Regions from separate parts of the Homo sapiens genome. Here region 1 is linked to region 2. Evidence: promoter capture Hi-C in human tissues and cell types (Jung and others, 2019). All regions are on one chromosome and are shown on one strand. The core of a region is centred on a gene start or on the middle of the fragment in contact, and the rest is flanking DNA. Distances in the headings are between cores, read along the strand shown. Region 1 has its middle 110 kb from the start of NDUFV2. Region 2 holds the start of TWSG1 (twisted gastrulation BMP signaling modulator 1).

Region 1 (5,877 bases), core at 1,755-4,254, 340 kb before region 2:
CTGTAATGACATACCTAAGACTGGGTAATTTATAAAGAAAAGAGGTTTAATTGGCTGAAAGTTCTGCAGGCTGTACAGGAAGCATGGCAGCATCTGCTCAGCATCAGGCGAGACCTCAGGAAACCTACAATTATGGCAGAAGGTGAAAGGGAAGCAGGCATGTTTTACGTGGCTGGAACAGGAGGAAGAGAGAGAGTGGGGAGGTGCCACACGCTTTTAAACAACCAGATCTTGTGAGAACTCACTCATTATTATGAGAACAGAAACAGCACTAAACAGAGATATCCACCCCTAAGATCCAATCACTTCCCACCAGGCCCCACCTCCAAGATTGGGGATTACATTTTGACATGAGATTTGGGTGGGACACAGATCCAAACTATAGCAAATGTGTATACAAATCACCTGGGATCTTATTAAAAATGAAGATTCTGATTCAGTATATTTGGAACAAGTCCAGTAATTCTGCATGTCTAGCAAGCTCCCATGTCCCAGGTGACATCCATGCTGCTGGTCCAGGAACCACACTTTGGTGGCAAGAATGTGAGTCATTGTGTGTGTTGCTATCATTAGTCTTCCTGGTATTGGACTTGAGACCTTCTTAGTCATCTTTGTATCTCCAACACTTATAAGGTGACCAACGTCAAGTTGAGTTAACACATAGTTACAGAATAAATACATCTTTACAGAATAAATACATCTTAGCCTTTCTTTCTCTAAAAAACGGTGAGAGCAACTCTCTCAGGTATGGATGGGATAATATCCAAAAGTATCCACGCTTCTTCAGGGTTGAAAGAAGACCTTCGAAAGAAAATCTAAAGAACAAAAGTGCTCACCATTCAGCCCATATCCACTTCCTTTTCATAGAAATGATAGAAGCAAAAATAAGAAAATAGCTTGGTGAGACTAGATGGTTAGATGAAAGGGTTCCAGGGAGTAAAGATGGTAAGGACTCGAGCTAGCACACTAGAAAAAGTCTCCTTTTCCTAGGTGCCAGTTTCCAGACTATGCTTTGCAAAGAGCACTACGATGAACATCCTTAAACACTGAATTAATGTGTGTCAGCAAAATAATTTCCCTAAAATTGTTTTATTATAAGGAAATTAATAGGGAGTGTGCATGTCCTTTCAACAACATGCTGGAGCATTGTCTAAAAAGCCCACTGAAGATTATTTAATTCTCTAACAGAGCGTCCCTGTGTTTGCCTTTAGTATTTACTATTTGAATATAACTCAGACACTATGGAGTTCTCTGTGGACTTACATATTTCCATCCAGTAGAAGATCTTATTACAAAGGTTATGGTCCCATTGTCCTGCACCATATGATGCAATTGTGTATATAACCTAGCAATGTTATTTAAACATCCTTTTTTAAAAAATTTTTCTTTATTTCTTTAAAGAAATAATTTTATAAATAGAGACAGGGTCTCGCCATGTTGCCCAAGCTAGTCTCGAACTCCTGAGCTCAAGTGATCCACCTTCTTTGGCCTCCCAAAGTGCGGGCATTACAGGCGTGAGCCACCACACCTGGCCTATTTGAACATTCTTTTAAAAATATTACTATAACCCAGCATTTTGGGAGGCCGAAGCAGGTGGATCACTTGAGCTCAGGAGTTCAAGACCAACCTGGGCAACATGATGAAACCCCGTCTCAGTTAAAAAAAAAAAAATTCCTATAAATGCCCAGTTCCTCAAAATGCTTTCCCAACCAGTTTTACCACCTTACTGAATCTCTCATTAATGAACAAATATTTGACATGTGCTAATTGTATATTTGTATGAGAGTCATGTTTTTAACTTTTTGAAAATTATGCTTTGACAGAATAAATTACCAGAAATAGAGCTTGGCTCGGTACATCACATGTCCTCAGACCAAGAACAACTATGCTGGAGAAGCTGTATTTCCTTCACCATCACTGAGGAGCCTCATCTGCACCTGGAATGAATTAAGATATCAATGTCCTATTTTGACTGCATGCTGTTTAGAAATGAGATTTTGAGAAGTCTTAGGATAGGGTGAGTGTATTTTTGTATGTGGAAGGGAATATAAATAATTTTGGGTCAGTGGGCAAACAGAGGGGTTTTCAATAATTCTTTGACACCCCTCCCTTCTGTGGAGCTAATTCCCCTCCGCTTGAGTGAGTCACCCGGTGACTCATTACTAAGGAATAGAATGTGGCATAAATGATAGAGCATGACTTCTTTCTTTCTTTCTTTCTTTCTTTCTTTCTTTCTTTCTTTTTTTGAGACAGGGTCTCACTCTGTGGCCCAGACTGGAGTGCCATGGTGCAAGCACAGCTCACTCGGCTTCAACCTCCTGGGCTCAAGCGATCCTCTCACCTCAGCCTCCCAAGCAGCTGGGATTACAGGCACACACCACCATATCCAGACAATTTTTGTATTTTCTGTAGAAACAGGAGTTTCACAGTGTTGACCAGGATGGTCTTGACTCCTGGACTCAAGTGATCCTGCCACTCCAGCCTCCCAAAGTCCTGGGATTACAGATATGAGCCACCAGGCCCAGCCTGACAGAACATGACTTCTGAGGGTAGGTCATAAAAGACATTGTGACTTCCAGTTTGCTCTTTGATCACTTGTCTAAAGGAAGTCAGCTGCCATGTCTCAATGACACTCAAGTGGCCCTATGGAGGGGCCCAAAACAGCATCCTCCCACCAATAGCCATCGAGGAACTGAGGAACTGAGGCCCTTTGCTAATAGCCATGAGTGCACCATCATGAAGTAGATCTCCTGCCCCTGTCAAGCCTTCAGATGACTGCAGCCCCAGCTGACTGCTCAACTGCAACCTCATGAGAAACCCTCAGCTAGGACAACCCAGCTAAGCTATTCTCAAATTCCACAGAAACTGTGAAATAATACATGCTTATGTTTTAAGCAATTAAGCTTTGGTTAATTTGTTACACAGTAATAGATAACTAATACAGCTGGCTTATCAGGCATGTGTAGTTTAAGACTTTTCATACAGATTGCAAAATTGCCTTCCTGAAATGTTATGCCAATTTACACTCCCACGAAGAGTTGCATAAGAGTGCTCATGTTCTCAGTCCTTCCTCTTGTTAAGTGCTACATTTTTAATTTATTCTTTCTGATATTCTTTATTCTTTCTGATAGAAAATGGTATCTTATTACTCTGATTTATATAGTTTTAAAGTTCAATGAGGTTGAACGTTTTTCATATATTTATTATCTGTTTTGTGACTCTCAATCAAATGCTGTGTGTGTGTGTATATATATATATTAAATTGTAGTGTTAATTTTTTTCATTCCTTGATTCCTAAGGTCTATTTGGCTTTTAACATCTTATATCTACCTGTTACTATGTTGCAAGTATTTCTCCTAGCTTGCCACATAGATATCCTTATGTGGGGGACATGAAGATGTACTGCCTGCAACCCTTTCAAGGAAGATTTGTGGCAGCTGTCTCTTGCCTCAGTTGCAGAGAGCTGCCTTGCCCAAGAGTATGCTCTTCCTGTGACCCATATCCATTGATCAATTGTTGTAGGGTATAAAGGTCCAGCCATTTCAGCCCACCATGGTCCTGCTCTGGCAAGCCATTGACACTCCCGAGCTCTCCACAGGGTAGCATTGCTGAGCTGCATTGTAGTTCGACCACTCCCCTAAAGAAACCCTGCTTCCTTCGTCTCCTTTCCATAGGTGTCGATCTCTAACAAACACGGTGCCCATCAAATTTCAACCTAGCATCTTTTTCTAGAATACTTAACCTGTGACATCCTGGAAATTAATTCCTCAACTTGTAATTGATATAATATCTATATACCTCTACACATAAATGTATTACTCTTAAAAATAATTTATTATGTTTTTTCATAGGGGAAACTGGTTCTTTTATAGAATGATTATTGGAATAAAAACACAAAAAGTTGAGTGTTATTTAAAAACACAAAGTCTTTCCCTATCAGCTACTATGCAAATCCATTATCTATATTACATTTCTTCAAATAAAATCACTTCCTTACCCTGCGATATCTCCCCTGTCACTTACTATCCCCTTTATCTTGTTTTTTTTTCTTCACAGCATTTTATTTGAGTATCTTTTACATCTGTATCTGCCTCCCCAGCACCTAGAATGGAACATGGCATATAATGTGTTCAATAAATATTGATTGAATGGATAGATGAGTAGATCAATAAAGGAGTAAGTGACATTTGGGTAAAGGTAGATAAAGTATATCCAGACCAATACCATATTTGTCCTCCTTCTTCCAGGAAAATGAAGCACAGTATTAATTTGTCTCATACAGAAGTTACCAAAAATATTTATTGTATGTGCACAAATGTATCCAGACCACTCTAGAAACCATCTCTTCTTTGATCTCTTCTTTCCCCCAGCCTTTCCTCTTTTTGCAGCCTGCAGGACTGCCTAGCTTCAAGGGAGCTGAGAGGAAGGTTGTGTTCAGGTGATCAGGAATGGTAACAGATGGTTGGATGCCCTCATTTTGCAGATGCCTCTATATTTGTGCTGCTTAAAAGCATTTTAACTAGTATAGAGCAAAACATGTATTATCTTTTAGTTGCAGCCCTAGTTTCTAGAATCCCGGATTAGTGACTAGCCCCCTAAACCTCACAGCCACTAATCCACTGGGATGGCTCCTCTGCCTCTGTTGACGTTGGGTGCTTTCAGCCCCCAGTGAATTCTGCCTCTTTAATCTTGTTTGGTGCTGATTTTTTTTTTTCTACCATTAGCGCTTTGGATTGGAATGTGGTTGCCTCATATTTTTTTGTCAGACTCTTTACAGACAAGCAAATAAACTTGGAGAGGGTAAGTAAGGTAACACAGGAGATCTGAGATAGAGCTAGGACTTTTGCCATCTATCCTTGTCATCAAAAGCACTCATTAATCTTATCGTCATTCTGTGGCAGGGTGGTGGAACAGCACAGGTCAATTTAGAGATTCAGGACAATGGGGAACACTCACTCTCTCCAGTTCTTTTGTGCAAACAGCTGACCTAAGAATAAAACTTAAGCATCCAGAATGTCATAAAAGCACAGTCTATGTTCATATTTAAGTTCATCTGCAGCATTTTTGTCACTTTTAGCTACGATTAGGATGCCTTTAAAGCAGTTATTGTCCAATAGATTTCCATTTGAAGGAAAGGATGTTTGTCATGGTAAGTAATTAAGTAATAGAACATTTCTTAGCTTCTAAGGGAAACCTTTCCAGGTTAAGTAATTTGCAGAGGGGGAAATGTCATCTTTTATTTTTTTTCTTCAGAAGGAATTGATTAGACAGAACAACTACAGGAAACCCCAAATGTTGAAATCAGCAGGAGACCTTTAAATTGCACAGAATCAAATTTCTAAAAACATAATTCTACCTGTATTGTTGAAAATAGAGAGGCCAGATGCGGTGACTCATGCCTGTAGTCCCAGCACTTTGGGAAGCCGAGGCAGGTGGATCACTTGAGGTCAGGAGTTTGAGAGTAGCCTGGCCAACATGGCGAAACCTCATCTCTACTAAAAATATAAAATTAGCCGGGCATGGTGGTGCATGCCTATAAGTCCCAGCTACTCGGGAGGCTGAGGCAGGAGAATCGCTTGAACCCGGGGGGCGGAGGTTGCCGTGAGCCAAGATCGCGCCATTGCACTCCAGCCTGGGCAACAAGAGCGAAACTCCGTCTCAAGGAAAAAAAAAAAAATAGAGCTCAAAAATCCATTAGCTCTTTGCATTTTCCCCCATTTTGTAATTATTGTTATTGCTTTATGCATTGTGAAGTCTCTATTATGCGAACCCCATCGGGGGCTGCTTTTCCATCACGATCAGCTCATTGGTGCTGTCAGCATAGAGCTCCCGGGAGGCCTCCCTGAGAATCTAGTGGAAAAGAAAGGAAATGTGAGC
Region 2 (5,286 bases), core at 2,526-5,025:
ACCCCATGGCAGGCAGAATAATGCATCCCACCAACCCCTAAAGACTTCTGTATCCTAACCTGTGAATATGTTGTCTTATATGGCAAAAGGGCCTTTGGAAATGTGTTTAAGCCAAGCATCTTGAGATAGGGAGATTATCCTGGATTATCCAGGTGGGCTGGACATAATCCCAAGGCATTGTAAAGAGGGGTGGGAAGGTCAGAGTCATAGAGGGAGTGTGACTGTGTTCGAAGAGTTGAGACAAAGAGTGAGAAAAAGAGGAGGGAGGTATTGATTTGAAGATGCTAAAGCTGCTGGACTTGAAATGGAGGGAGGACCACAAACCAAAGACTCTAGGTGGCCTCTAGAAGCTAGAAAGGCAAGACAATGGGTTCTCTCCTAGAGCTTACAGAAGGAACATAGCCCTGCTGACACCCTGATTTTAGAATTCCTGGCCTCCAGAACTGTAAAGTAATAAATTCATTTCATTTATTTATTTATTTATTTATTTTTTGAGACAGGGTCTCACTCCCATGCTCAAGTTGGAGTGCAGTGGTGTGATCACAGCCCACTGCAGCCTCAACCTCCCAGGATCAAGTGATCCTCCTACCTCAGCCTCCCAAGTAGCTGGGACCACTGGTGTATGCCACCACACCTGACTAATTTTTACTTTTTTTTTAGTAGAGTTGGAGTTGTGCCATGTTGCCCTGGCTAGTTTTGAACTCCTGGGCTCAAGGCATCCTCCCAACTTGGCTTCCCAAAGTGCTGGGATTACAGGTGTGAGCCACTTCGCCCTGTCAAATTTGTGTTGTTTTAAGCCACTAAACATGAGGTAATTTGGTAGAGCAGCTGTGGCTGGCTGAGAGACTCCACCCACTGACACATCTGTATCCGATTGAGGATTGGGAGTGAATCCTTTGAACTTTTCATTGAACCCTACTAAGAAGCTCTATCACATTGTTGTCAGACTCTCTCACTTGCAAAGATCAGAAAGTCTTCTGGTGAAATAAAATAGCCACTGCAGTGACCCCCGTGGCTCCCAGATTCCCAAATGGCCAACCATTTGAGATCCGGAACCACTTGATATTCACCTGAGGGCTCAACTACCATTTGACCTTCCAGGTCCTGTCAAAGAGGATCTTTAATTTAAATGAAAAATAACTGTGTTACTTTTCTTATTATCAAATTAATACAAGCAAAGACATCAGAAAATGCAGACAAGCAAAAAGAAAAAAACATCATTAACAACAGACAACACTCCATCTCACTGAGATAACCACTAATACCATCATTATCTTTCCAGCACTTTAAAAATAACTCTAGTCCGGGCACCGTGGCTTGCACCTGTAATCCCAGCACTTTGGGAGGCCGAGGTGGGCAGATCACCAGGTCAGGAGTTCAAGACCAGCCTGGCCAACATAGTGAAACCCCATCTCTACTAAAAATACAAAAAATTAGCCGGGCGTGGTGGTGTGCGCCTGTAATCTCAGCTACTCGGGAGGCTGAGGCAGAAGAATCTCATGAACTCGGGAGGCGGAGGTTGTAGTGAGCCGAGATGGCAGCGTTGCACTCCCGCCCAGGTGAAAGTACAAGACTCTGTCTCAAAAACAAACAAACAACAACAAAATTAATTATTCAAAAACTATGCAGTACTTTAAAATTTTTTATGTATCATGAATATCTCTAGTCGCAATATTCATCTGCAACACTAATTGTCATAGTGTGATCTGGGGCTGCTAGGGAGGGATCCCAAGACATTTTCAGGAGGTTGTGAGCTCAAAATTATTTTAATTTTAATTCTAAGGCATTATTTGACTTTTCACCCTCATTCTCTCACAAGCAGAAACTACATAATACATGATACTGCAACAGTTTGAATACAGAAGCAGATATAAAAACAGTGGCTATTAAGTTTGATGTTAAAGGCAATAGCAAAAATCTAAAACCACGCTGTTCTTCCTACTGTTTTAAAATATATACTTATTTTTCATTAAATATTTGTTATCATATAATGGGTTTGTTATTTTTAAATGAAATAATGAATATGTAAAAAATTGTTTTAATTTTGAAAGTATTAACAGATGTAGCACACATACACAAAACCTCTTTGGCATGCTCCATAATTTTCAGGAGTGTAAAGGGATTCCGAGACGAAAAAGTTTGAGAACCTCTGATCTGCGGTATCACTTTTTAATGGCTGAATTAGTGCATTGATCGGAAGTTTCCTAATTCACTTAACTAGTATATAATGCCAAGAATAAGATTCTTATACTTAAATTTGGGTATACCCTTAATTATTTCTCTAGGATAATTTTCAAGGATGATTTTTAAAACCCATATTTATTGTACAAAAGTGGGCTAACATCAGTAATGCAATCCACCCCCAGCCAATCAGCTGTTTTCATTCTGTTTCCTTCCAATCAACAAAGGTGGGTGGTAGGCATTTACGATTTACCAGCATAAGGGTTTGACACTAGGTCATCATTTCCAAGGGAAGGTGCCCCGCGGACGGTCTGGTCTAGCGGGCTCTAACTTAATCACCCTGGAATCTTCTTTAAAAAGCAAATTCCGGCCGGGCACTATGGTTCACACCTGTCATCCCAACGATTTAGGAGACCGCGGTGGGAGGATCGCTTGAGCCCCGAAATTTGAAACCAGCTTGGGCAACATAGCAAGACCTCCATATCTACAAAAAAATAAAATATTAGCCAGGCGTGGTGGTGCGCGCCCGTAGCCCCAGCTACTCGGGAGGCTGAGGCGGGAGGATTGCTTGAGCCTAGGAGGTGGAGGCTGCAGCGAGCCTGATGTTGTCACTGCCCTCCAGCCTGGTGAGAGTGAGACCTTGTCTCAAAAGAAAAAAAAAAAAAAGCAACCCAGAGTTGTGGGAAAGAACTGAGTGTCATTCTCAATGTTTTTAACCTACGTGCTAACCGCGCACCTTCTACCTAGGCTGCGCGACCTCCGCGCCCGGATCCATGGCGCCCCCTCTTCTCGACTCCCGATGCAGAGCTCCGATGCAGAGCTCAGCGCCAGCCACTCACAAGGAGCCTGGCAAGTTTTATCGAATTGGTGAACGAAGTTCGAAAGCTCTACCCTTGGAGATCCTTATTCAGTAGGTCTGAGGTAGACCTAGGAAACGCGCATTTTATATAAATCCTACCTCTGACGGCAAACGACAAGGGGTTCACGTGCCAGCTCTCCTCGGCGACGCGCTAGGCTACTCAGCGCCCCGAGCCTCGGCCTCGCATCGCTAGAACCCGGCCATGGCCGCTTCCTTACAGGGCAGCTGTGAGGAGTCCTGAGGAATTTTAGTACACGGCATATCCTCAGCGTAGTGGCTAGCACATCACAAGGCTTTAATCTTAACACTGTTGATCTTAACACTGCAACTGAGGGGGCCCGGAGAATGGGCCTGACAGGAGGGTCTGTCGGAACCTGAGGGACTGGGGATCCCGGTGCGGAGAAGCGCGAAGGGAAATCGCGTTGAGCAGCTGGGGTGGGTGCGCCTGGGGGCGTGGCCTGCGGGCCGGCGGGCGGGCGGGAGCCTGCGGTGGAGGCGTGGCACGAGGGAGGGGCGAAACCGGGTGGCGCGGAGGGGGCGTGGCGTTGGGAGGGGCGGGGGGAGTGGGCGGGGCCGAGATGGGGGCGTGCGCGCTGACAGGAGCGCCGGGGGAGTGAGAGACGCCTCCTGGCGGGAGCTGGCGGCTGTGGACCCCAGCGGGGGCGGAGGGGAAGAGGGGAGCAGGGGCGGGGAGCAAGGAGCCGGGAGGAGGGCGGCGGGCGGGCCTGTCTCTTTAAGGTGCCCGAGGCTCGCGGGCGCTGCGCTGAGGGGACGGCGGGAGGCGCGGCCTGGCCTCGCACTCAAAGCCGCCGCAGCGCGCCCCGGGCTCGGCCGACCCGGCGGGGATCTAGGGGTGGGCGACTTCGCGGGACCGTGGCGCATGGTGAGTGGGAGCGGCTGGGGGGTTGTGCAGCCTCTTGGCCTCTTGGTTGGGAAGGGGCCGGGCGCCGAGCTCGGCCCTCTAGAGGCCCGGGGCCGCGGCGAGCTTCGCGGGGGCCGGGAGAAGCCTGGGCCCGGCTGCGCGGAGGACAAAGTGGGGGTGCTGGGCGCGGGCGCACAGGCCGGACGCCGGGAGCCAGCAGCATCTCTGCGCCGCTTTGGTCCAGACCATCTCTGGGCCGGCCCGCGTCCTCCGCAGCCCGCGTCGGCCGAGCCGGGGTGGGGGTGGTTCCGGGTGCCCGGTCCCCCACACCGCTACCGGCCTCTGCCTCGCGGGGCGTCCGGCGCCTTCGGGGCCCTGGCACCGCTCTACAGAGGCTCGGCTCTGCCCTGGTCGCTGTCAGTGCCATCTCCCTTAACGAGAAACTTGGGCGTGATGTATGCGAAACAATTTTGATGCATGATGGTTTCTAACTCCTTAGGAAAAGATAAGTCCTTTAATTCTATTACCTGATTTCGACATGGTCGTAGTTACTTGAATACTTTTTCCAGTGAAATTTGGGGAGTAAGATGAATTTGTGGAACATTTCATAAGACAACCGTAAAAGATGGGAAAGGGGGGAAATCCCAGTTTTCATGGTTGTAGGATGAAAACTAGTTCCACGACAGTTAGTCTCCAAATAACCTTATTTGGCCTCCGCAAATATGTACTGGTTGCTCCAGAAATCATCCTACTTGGTATGCGGCGTTAGATACATTAGAAAATTAGTTACTAACGGTCTTTAGGGAATGCTTTGTGAGCCTCAGTAACGATCACCAGGGTTTTCTCTTTCAAAATTGACTCATACCAGGTCCAAAGCCCTTTATTCTTTTCACCCTTTTATTATTTTTCCTTTAATGTACTTTGTAACACTTAGAATAAAAGTTTAGAGTAATCATAAATGCCCCCATAAACTCACTATTTATCCCTCTTACGTCAGTAGTCATTTATTTTAATTTATTATGTTTGATAGGGAGGTGTTTTAACCTGAAGAAATGATATCTTCCCGTATTTAAAGTTTAATAACTGTATACTGTTTGGCCCCTGTCAGACTGTGTTTGTGCTAGTCTTTTTTCCTTCTTCTTTTTGAACTGTAGTATCTTCTTAATAACTTTGAAGAATGTGTGGTACTAATAGAATTAAAAGAATATCTTGGCCGGGCGCGGTAGCTCACCCCTGTAATCCCACACTTTGGGAGGCCGAGGCGGGTGGATCACCTGAGGTCAGGAGATCGAGACCAGCCTGGCCAATATGGTGAAACCCCGTCTCTACTAAAAATACAAAAATTAGCGGGGCGTGGTGATAGGCTCCTGTGATCCCAGCTACT

What was found. The method cuts DNA at HindIII sites, captures the fragments that hold promoters and counts their contacts. A contact is called where the count stands out against the background at its distance.
Region 1: a contact is called between a fragment that was not itself captured here and the fragment with the promoter of TWSG1 in region 2, in 1 of the 25 tissues and cell types used here (dorsolateral prefrontal cortex).

Annotation. Positions count from the first base shown.
Region 1 is chr18:8,994,237-9,000,113 of GRCh38, forward strand. No RefSeq gene overlaps it. Among named protein-coding and RNA genes, the nearest start is that of NDUFV2, 110 kb to the right of the region's middle. RefSeq lists an enhancer at 3,317-3,818. The HindIII fragment of the contact is 3,280 bases long and covers 1,365-4,644 here.
Region 2 is chr18:9,330,998-9,336,283 of GRCh38, forward strand. It overlaps TWSG1 (twisted gastrulation BMP signaling modulator 1), which reads left to right and starts at 3,776. Exons shown (of 5, transcript NM_020648.6): 1 at 3,776-3,923. TWSG1-DT (TWSG1 divergent transcript) reads right to left here and starts at 3,472. Exons shown (of 3, transcript NR_183523.1): 1 at 3,140-3,472. RefSeq lists a silencer at 3,477-4,266 and enhancers at 4,064-4,564, 4,327-4,376. The HindIII fragment of the contact is 24,059 bases long and covers 1-5,286 here.